Regions from separate parts of the Homo sapiens genome. Here region 2 is linked to region 1. Evidence: promoter capture Hi-C in human tissues and cell types (Jung and others, 2019). All regions are on one chromosome and are shown on one strand. Each heading gives the region's core, a stretch centred on a gene start or on the middle of the fragment in contact. The rest is flanking DNA. Distances are from core to core; before and after follow the strand shown.

Region 1 (4,211 bases), core at 1,535-4,034:
TCCTTGGAACAGATGTTCTGTGAACAATTTATAAAACTCCCTCCTGTTAGACACTTAGGTTGATTCCATTTTTAAATCAATTACTGAATAAAACACACTCCATCGTGTGGATGAAATGCTACCTTAATTTGTCAAAGCTATCATTTTCTAAACTTTTCTTTTTAATTCAAATCATTAATATTTTGTGGCCAGATCAATACTGATTCATTGTTTTAAGCTTCAAATGCATTATACAGTTGGGCAGAACACATTTCCTCTCATCAATCTTCTTTTCCAGGATTTGTCAGATATTCCTGACATTAATTCACTACTAATATGCACAGTTTCTCTAATCATGGTCAACAAAGATCTGACAGTGCATTGTCCCTAAACGACCCATACTTGCCTCACTGACACCATGTGGCCCACTTCCCATCTATAATCTATGTCTGGGTGTGAAGCCCTTCCCATATGATCCCCCGAATGGAACTTCACAAGTTCGAATTCACTGGGTCACAGTGTGATAGCGTGAAGATGGGAGGACGTTAAGGGAAGGCTATGGGTGAGTTGGGAAATGTGTTAGGCAGGGTCAGAGATTACCACATCCTAAAAACAACACTTAAGGCGGGAGATGACAAAACAATCAATGAATAACATGACTTTTTCCAGTGAAAGTGCCATATCTAATCCTTTTCCATTTTTGTTCTCTGAGCTTCTTTCTTAGGGAAGATCCTTCTTGAGAAGCCCCTGCTGAGTATTAGGAAAATGCATTTCAGGACCTCTCATCAACACACCCTCTTTCTTTACCACAACCACATATATGGGGGCATAACTCAACATGTGTAAAAGACAATCTTCTGCTTTTCACTGAACCTCCAGGAATTCAGGACAATAAACCTCTACATGCAGACCAACAGGTGAGTTTTTCTGCCCCTTCTTTCATAACACCGTTCTTCCCTAGTGAAGTCCACACACATCCTTACATGGCAGCTGTGGGTATATCAACTGGTCTGACCCCTTTTAGTCACAGAGCCTGAAGTCTGCTAGTACCTGCTGAGCACAGTGTCATGGGTGAGAATGGGCAAGGCTTTTTCTTTCTCTGGTTCCTGAACTTCCCAGGCTCTCTCACTTCTGGATCCTGAATACCCAAATCCCAAGCTTCCTTCCCAGAACCAACACCTCCTCCTCATTAGAAAGATACCTTTGTTGTGTGCTTACTTTATAAAGTCTTGCTCTTTCCCTGTCCACTGCCTTGTGTCACTATGTGTGTGTCTTGGGGCCGGTGGAAAGGTGAACAGAAGCCAGTAGAGAGTAACAAGCACCAGCTTCACAGGAATGGCATGACCTTAATACGATAGTGGCAGTTTTCCCTTAACATCCCTGCCCCCTAAAGATTTCAGATCATATGTCACACTCTTAAGTAACAGCGATTTGTCTTTCACGGTTTTAATCATATTGATTAAAAGCATTTGTCTTCTCCAGAACATCACATTAAGTCATCAAAAAATATAAACCTTAAAAAGATGTAATTATTGGAACTGAAAAACATAAAAGGTGAGCTTTGGAAATATCTTTGAGCAGTCTATTCATTATGAACACATGTAATCTGTTGGAACAAAGTTCTAGGACAATCCAGGTCATCCTTCAATATTTGCAGAAAACAGCACAAAGAAAACTTGATACTTAAACTTAGTTGGAAACTTTATGCCACAGCCATTAAATACAGAGATCATATAAAGGAATAGAGGAAGCTGTTGAATACTAAACTAACTCAAATCATCATTATCCTTACGAAGTGCACACTGAATTAATGTAAAAAGCATTTAGTAAACAAAAAGTATTTTCAATATACAATTAAGACTGAAAAGTATTGAGGCCTCATAAGCTGAACCTGACACAATAAATTTAAAAGGGAAACTAATTTGGAAATCAGAAAACCATCTAAAGAATTTGGGAATTAGGCTTCTGCTGCCCTCTCTGCTACTGACGGTCAAGGCCTCCTCATTGTATTCTGTCCTCCATATCTCTGCTGATTCCCATTTTGTCTATTTCCATTTACCCCACTACTACTTGCTCAGGTCACTCTCCTTCATTGTCGGTGTTTGTTCAAATTCCTCAGACCCATCCACTTCCCATCTAAACTTCCCTCCCCTTTTCTCGCTCGTTGGCTCTACCTCCCTCCTCTGTTTTCTCCTCACTCTCCTGCCCCACCTCGACATCCACAGCGAGGCAATGAAGAAGCCCCTGCCAAGGAAGAGCCCGCTTCTCAGTGGGACACCGGGAAGGTAAACACCCAACAGTCACCGCTAGTGGGAGGCGATTGTGCAGAAGCACGAGGGTTGTTACAGGATCGGGCAGGTCCCCTACCCCAGTCTCGGACTCAGGGTCCTGTCTGAGGCGGCCACCCCGAAGCGTGGGGTTTGCGGAGACGTAGGGCCTGGCGGAGGGAAGGATGGGGAAGCATCTCAGGGAGGACTGGCGTCTGCCGAATCCCAGGGCTGCCCTGAGGGGCCAAGAGGGGCGAGGGTGGGGACGATGGAAGACAAGCCACATGCCGAATCGGGACCTGAGGCCGCGCGCGATAGGATGGGCGGACGGTGAAGAGAACTAGGGTGGAAGGGCCGGACAGGGGCGACCTCAGTGACGGAACCGGACACAGACGCAGATCTGGCAGCTGGGCGACAGGCTTCGGAGCATTTCCGGGCGTCGCGGGACTCCCCGCCGACAGGAGGGCGGTTGCCGAGCCTGTGACATCCGCGGAGACCAGCAGACCCCGGGTGTGGAGGACGCCGCAGGAAGGGAACTGCGTGGCTGGGTTTGGCCACAAAAAGCGGAGGGCACTCACCCGAGCGGACCTCGGCTCCGGAGAATCCGTTTCCGGGTCAACAAAAAACGTCGCGCGAGGGGCGGGGCCCGTACGTGCAGGGAGGGGAGGCAGAGAAAAAGGCGGGGCCGGGCCGGGGCGGGGTCTCGGGCAGGGGCGGGGAGCTTACCGACCTCCCGCCCCCGCTGCGCGCGTTTCTGGCCCTGCCAGTGTCTCCGCCGGTTGAAAGCGCGTGTCTGCGTCGGGTTCTGTTGGAGTGCGTTCGGTGTGCCGTGGGTCCGCGCTGCTTCCACCCAACTTCCTGTTAGGTAAGAGGCGCGTGAGGCTCCTGTGCCGGGGGCGGTGCTGCTCCCGAGTCGGCGCGCGGCGGGGACGCGAGTCCGTAGGTGCTGGCGGGAGCGAGAGTCGGGTGGGGACCCTCGCGAGCCCGCACTCCGCCTCTGGGTAGCAGCCTCTTCGGCCCCACACGGCGTGACGCGCGCTCGGGCTCCGCGTTCGCGTCGAGGCAGAGGCGTAGTAGGGGTCGGGCCCAGGGCTGGAGGGGCCGGGACCGGGCGGGGTGCCGCCCTGGACACCGCGCCGGCAGCTGTTCCGCGCGGGTTCATGTCATTCCTATTTTCAACCTGTCCTGCTCCGCACCTGAGATGATTTATAAATTCGGTACCTTTGGGACAGGCGTGGATGACATCCCATAATTTACTTCGTTATTAATTTCTAAATGTAATACATACCACTATCTAAAAGTATTTTTTAATTTGAAATATATTTGTATACGTATACATGTATATTTATTTATTTCTGAATTTTATCTCGTACATATAATGAGGCTCGTAAAGTGGATACTGTTCAGGACATAGGTGGATTTTGCTTTTAAGTAGTAAAGACTTAATTGGTGACTTACTGGGGCTATTTGATAAGGATTTTTTTTTAATGAACATTAAAAACAGTGAAATTGTATTTCCGGATTTCGTTAGCTTCATTTATATCTTAATTGGTGAAAACTGTAAGTTAATAACTCATTTTTATTTCCTTTGGAGATTCTTAAGTTTGTGCTACCAATGATTATTTCCAAAAAAGGCACACTTCTGGTTTTCCCAGAACTAATGCTAGCTTCTCAATCTTTTGAGTTTACTTGATATTAATGTTTGACCTCAAATCATGTCACATTTTTGAAGAAAACTTTCTCTTAGCCAATGGAACATAAACCACCCTGGAGTTCATATAGAGGAGGGGTTCAAATGCCTCTGATAGTGTCGTGTTAAAACTCATGGCCAAACGCAAGGTCACATAGCTTTCTTTCTATGTTTCCCTCTAGAATTTGTATAGTTTTGTCATTATAAAATGGGTCTTGTCCTAGACCCCAAGAACAGGTTTTTGGATTTCACATGGGAAAGACCTTTTGGCAAGT
Region 2 (4,155 bases), core at 374-2,873, 390 kb before region 1:
CTGAAACTCCTGGGCTCAAGTGATCCTCCCACCTCAGCCTCCCAAAGTTCTGGGATTACAGGTGTGAGCCACTGTGCCCTGCCTTTTTAAATGTCTGATAGAATTTGCTAGTGAAGCTGTCTGGCTTGGGTTTTCAAGGGTAGTCTGTTTGGACTGTGATATCAAAATACCTCAGACTGGGTGCTTTATAAACAGCAGAATTTATTGGTCACAGTTCTGGAGGCTGGACAGTCCAAGATCACGTCACCACCAGATTTAGTATCTAGAAAAGCTTCGTTCTCTGCTTCATAGATATGGTGTCTTCTCACTGCATCCTCAACGTAGCAGAAGGGAAGGCAGTTCTTGGGGGCCTCTTTTATAAAAGCATTAATCCTATTCATTTTCACAGGGCCCTCATGACCTAGTCACTCTCCAAAGGCCCCACCTCCTAATAACATCACCTTTTGCTGATTGAGTTTCAACATATAAATGGGGGGTGGATACAAACATTCAGACCATAGCAAGGAATTTATTTATTTATTTTTATTTTTCTGAGACAGAATCTTGCTCTGTCACCCAGGATGGAGTACAGTGGCACAATCTTAGGCCACTGTAATCTCAAACTCCTGGGATCAAATAGTCCTCCTGCCACAGTCTCCCAAGTAGCTAAGACTACAGGTGCACATGCCACCACGCTTGGTTAATTTTTTTCATTTTTATTTTCTGTAGAGGTGTTGTCACTGTGTTGTCCAGGCTGGTCTCAAACTACTGGCCTCAAGGGATCGTCATGCCTTGGCCTCCCAACGTGCTGGGATTACAGGCATGAGCCACCACACTCAGCCACAAGGAAGTTTTAACATTATTTAATCTCTAATTGTTTTAGATATATTTCCTTTTGAGTTGGTTTGGGTAGTTTATGTTTTTCTAGGAATTGTATTTAACTTTGTTGGCTCATAATTGTTGATATTATTCACTTATAATCCTTTTTTACTTTTATAAGGTCATTATTTTATAAGATGTCCTCCCTTCCATTTCTAACTTTGGTAATTTAGTCCCTCTCTTTCTTTCGTAGTCTTTCTAAAGGATTGTCGTTTTGTCAGTCTTTTCAAAGAACTAACCATTGGTCTTGTTGATTTCTCTATTGTTTTTCTATTCTCTGTGTCAGTTATTTCTGCTCTAATCTTGATTATTTCCTTTCTTCTGCTGGTTTTTAGTTTGCTCTTCTCTATCTCCTTTCTCTTTTTAATTATTTAATTATTTTAATTATTTAAAAAATTTTTATTAACATATAGTTGACAAAAATTACATATATTTACTGTGTGATGTTTGATACATGTATACCTTGTTAAATGGTTATATCAAGCTAATTAACATATCCATCACATCACACACTTATCTTTTGTTGTGAGAAATTTTTCTAGTGTCTTAAGGTAGAAAGGTTATTGATTTGAGAGTGTCTTTTTTAATATAAGCATGTATAGCTATAACTTTTCCTCTGGGCACTGCTTTAGCTGCAGTCTATAAATATTGGCATGATGTGCTTTTATTTTCATCCTTCTCAAGTTTTTTTCTAATTTCCCTTGTAATTTCTTCTTTCATCCATTAGTTATTTAGGAGTGTATTGTTTAATTTTCACATATTTGTGAATTTCCCAAGTTTCTTCCTATTACTGATTTTTAATTTAAGTCTATTGTGCTCAGACAATATACTTTATGATTTCAATCCTATTTAAAGGTATTCGAGTTTATTTTATGGTGTATGCACCATATTGTCAGTCGTGGAGAACGTTTTATGTGTACTTGAGAATATGTATTCTGCTGTTTTTGGTGAAGTGTTCTGTAGATGCTGGTTAAATCTAAGTTTATTTAAGTTTTTATTTCTGTGTGGATCTTCTGCCTATTCATTCTATAAATAATTAAAAGTGGGGTATTGAAGTCTGTAAAAACCATTGTTAAATTGTCTACTTCTCCCTTCAATTTCACCAGTTTGCTTTATATATTTTGGGGTGCCACTGTTAGGTGCATATGGGTTTATAATTGTTATGTTAACATTTATCATTACAAAGTGTTTGTCTTTAGTAACATTTTCTGTTTTAAAGTCTGTTTTTTCTGATGTTAGTATAGCCTATCCAGCTCTGTCATGGTTGCTGTTTGCATGACGTATGTTTTTCTGTTCTTTAACTTTCAACTCATTTGTATTTTTAAAAGCTGCACTGGATTTTCTACAGAATATGAATACTTTTTCTATAGGAGGTCAGTGTACATTGCAGATACTATACAGACACACACAGAGACACACACTTGATAAGCAGGTTTCTGGTTTCCCTTTATTCAGTCTGATGATCTCTGCCTTTTGATTGACTTGTTCAATTGATTCACATTTAAATATTATTTTTATTGATTATTAGGTTTATATCTAACATTATGCTTTTTGTTTTCTTTTTTATTGATTTATTTATTTTTTGAGACAGAGTCTCACTCTGTTGCCCAGGCTGGAGTGCAGTGGCACAATCTCGGCTCACTACAACCTCCGCCTCCTGGATTCAAGTGATTCTCCTGCCTCAGCCTCCTGAGTAGCTGGGATTACAGGTGTGCGCCACCACGCCTGGCTAATTTTTGTATTTTTAGTAGAGACGAGGTTTCACCATGTTGATCAGGCTGGTTTCGAACTCCTGACCTCGTGATCCACCCACCTTGGCCTCCCAAAGTGCTGGGATTACAGGTGTGAGCCACCACGCCTGGCCCACTTTTTGTTTTGTATATGTCCTTATTATTCCTCCATTTTCTTTTATTGCTTTTTCATATTAAGTGGCTATTTTATAATGTAATATTTTTTATTCCTTAAATGACATTTTTACTGTATTGTTTATTTTCTTAGTGGTTGCTCTGGAGCTTACAATGTACATCTTAACATCAAATTTTATTTTAGATTTATACTAGCCTAATACCAGTGAAATACAGAAACATACTCCTGTGGAATGAGTTCAATTCCATAGACTTCATACAACATAGTTTCATTCCATAGACTTCTTTTTTGTGCTGTTGTTTAATATATTGTCCCTGTATATGTTACAAACCCAACAATATATTGTTATAATTACTACTGTATATAATCTTAAGTCTTTTAAGGAAGTTGAGAGAAGAAAGGAGAGCAAGTATATGTTTATAAAGTTTGTTATATTAATCTCCTTATTTACCATTTCTGATTCTCTTTTCTTCCCCCGGTGGATACTGGTTACTATCTGATGTCATTGCTTTCTCTCCAGTACAGCTTTGTTCCACCTGGCTTCTTTGTGCTGCTATTTTCAAATGTATTACGTTTCTATATGTTATAATACAAATAATGTAATTATATACATATTCTTTTATGTAAGCATTTTAAAAATAAGTTGAGAAGAAAGAAGAAATATGTTATACTGTCTTTTACAATTATCTACAGAATCCCCTTGTGTGAGATAGGTCTCACCGGGCCCCCCTCGTGCGCGGTGGGTCTCACCGGGGCCTCCTTGTGCGCGATGGGTCACGTGCCCTTTCTGTTCTCAAGGCTTTCTCTTTATTTGGCTTTCAACATTTTAACACGGGGCTGGGAGGTGGGCAACACAGGTGGCCAGAGCCCCAGACTGGGCACTGGGGGAGTAGGGCCCCCATTTTCTTTTCCACATCTGTAGAGAGCAGAGCTTCCATTTTCTCGATGGGCTTGGAGGGAGGGCTGAGGCTGAAATGCCACAGACTCTCACTGTTGTTACTAAGATTTACTGGATTTTCCTGAATAAATAGTTTTTCATTCTGCGTATGCCCTTAGGATAATTTCAGAGACTTTAAATGATGTTTAAAACCATTTTCTCCGGTTAAATGATTGTCTTCTGGGAGGAGTCCACCACTCCCAAGACGGCAGCTGTGTCCTCTACCTTTGAAATTTCCACCACTGATCTCCAACTCGGTCAGGCGTTTGGGGGACCTTGTCTCAAGTGGCGCTCTCAGTCTGCGTACTCTTGCATTAAGATTACACATAGCAGGGTAGTCCACGACACCAGGTTTAAGCACAATTTTAATAGTTAGTATCCATTGCGTGCTGTTCCAAGCGTGCTGTGTGTGATAACGCAGTTAGTCTCAACCACAGCCTGGAAAGAGGTTTCAGTCACACCCATTTCACAGCTGAGGCCTGAAGGATTTGGTA

What was found. Contacts are between HindIII fragments. The study calls those that stand out against the background at their distance.
Region 2: a fragment that was not itself captured here is called in contact with the fragment with the promoter of ZNF596 in region 1 in 1 of the 25 tissues and cell types used here (dorsolateral prefrontal cortex).

What each region holds. Positions count from the first base shown.
Region 1 is chr8:231,029-235,239 of GRCh38, reverse strand. ZNF596 (zinc finger protein 596) reads right to left here and starts at 2,784. Exons shown (of 6, transcript NM_001042416.3): 1 at 2,546-2,784. It also overlaps the pseudogene RPL23AP53. RefSeq lists an enhancer at 2,578-2,897 and a silencer at 2,918-3,017. The HindIII fragment of the contact is 11,154 bases long and covers 678-4,211 here.
Region 2 is chr8:618,599-622,753 of GRCh38, reverse strand. It overlaps LOC124902055 (a long non-coding RNA gene), which reads right to left. Exons shown (of 2, transcript XR_007061164.1): 2 at 4,009-4,155. It also overlaps a transcript of ERICH1 not described here. Among named protein-coding and RNA genes, the nearest start is that of TDRP, 76 kb to the right of the region's middle. The HindIII fragment of the contact is 4,674 bases long and covers 1-3,960 here.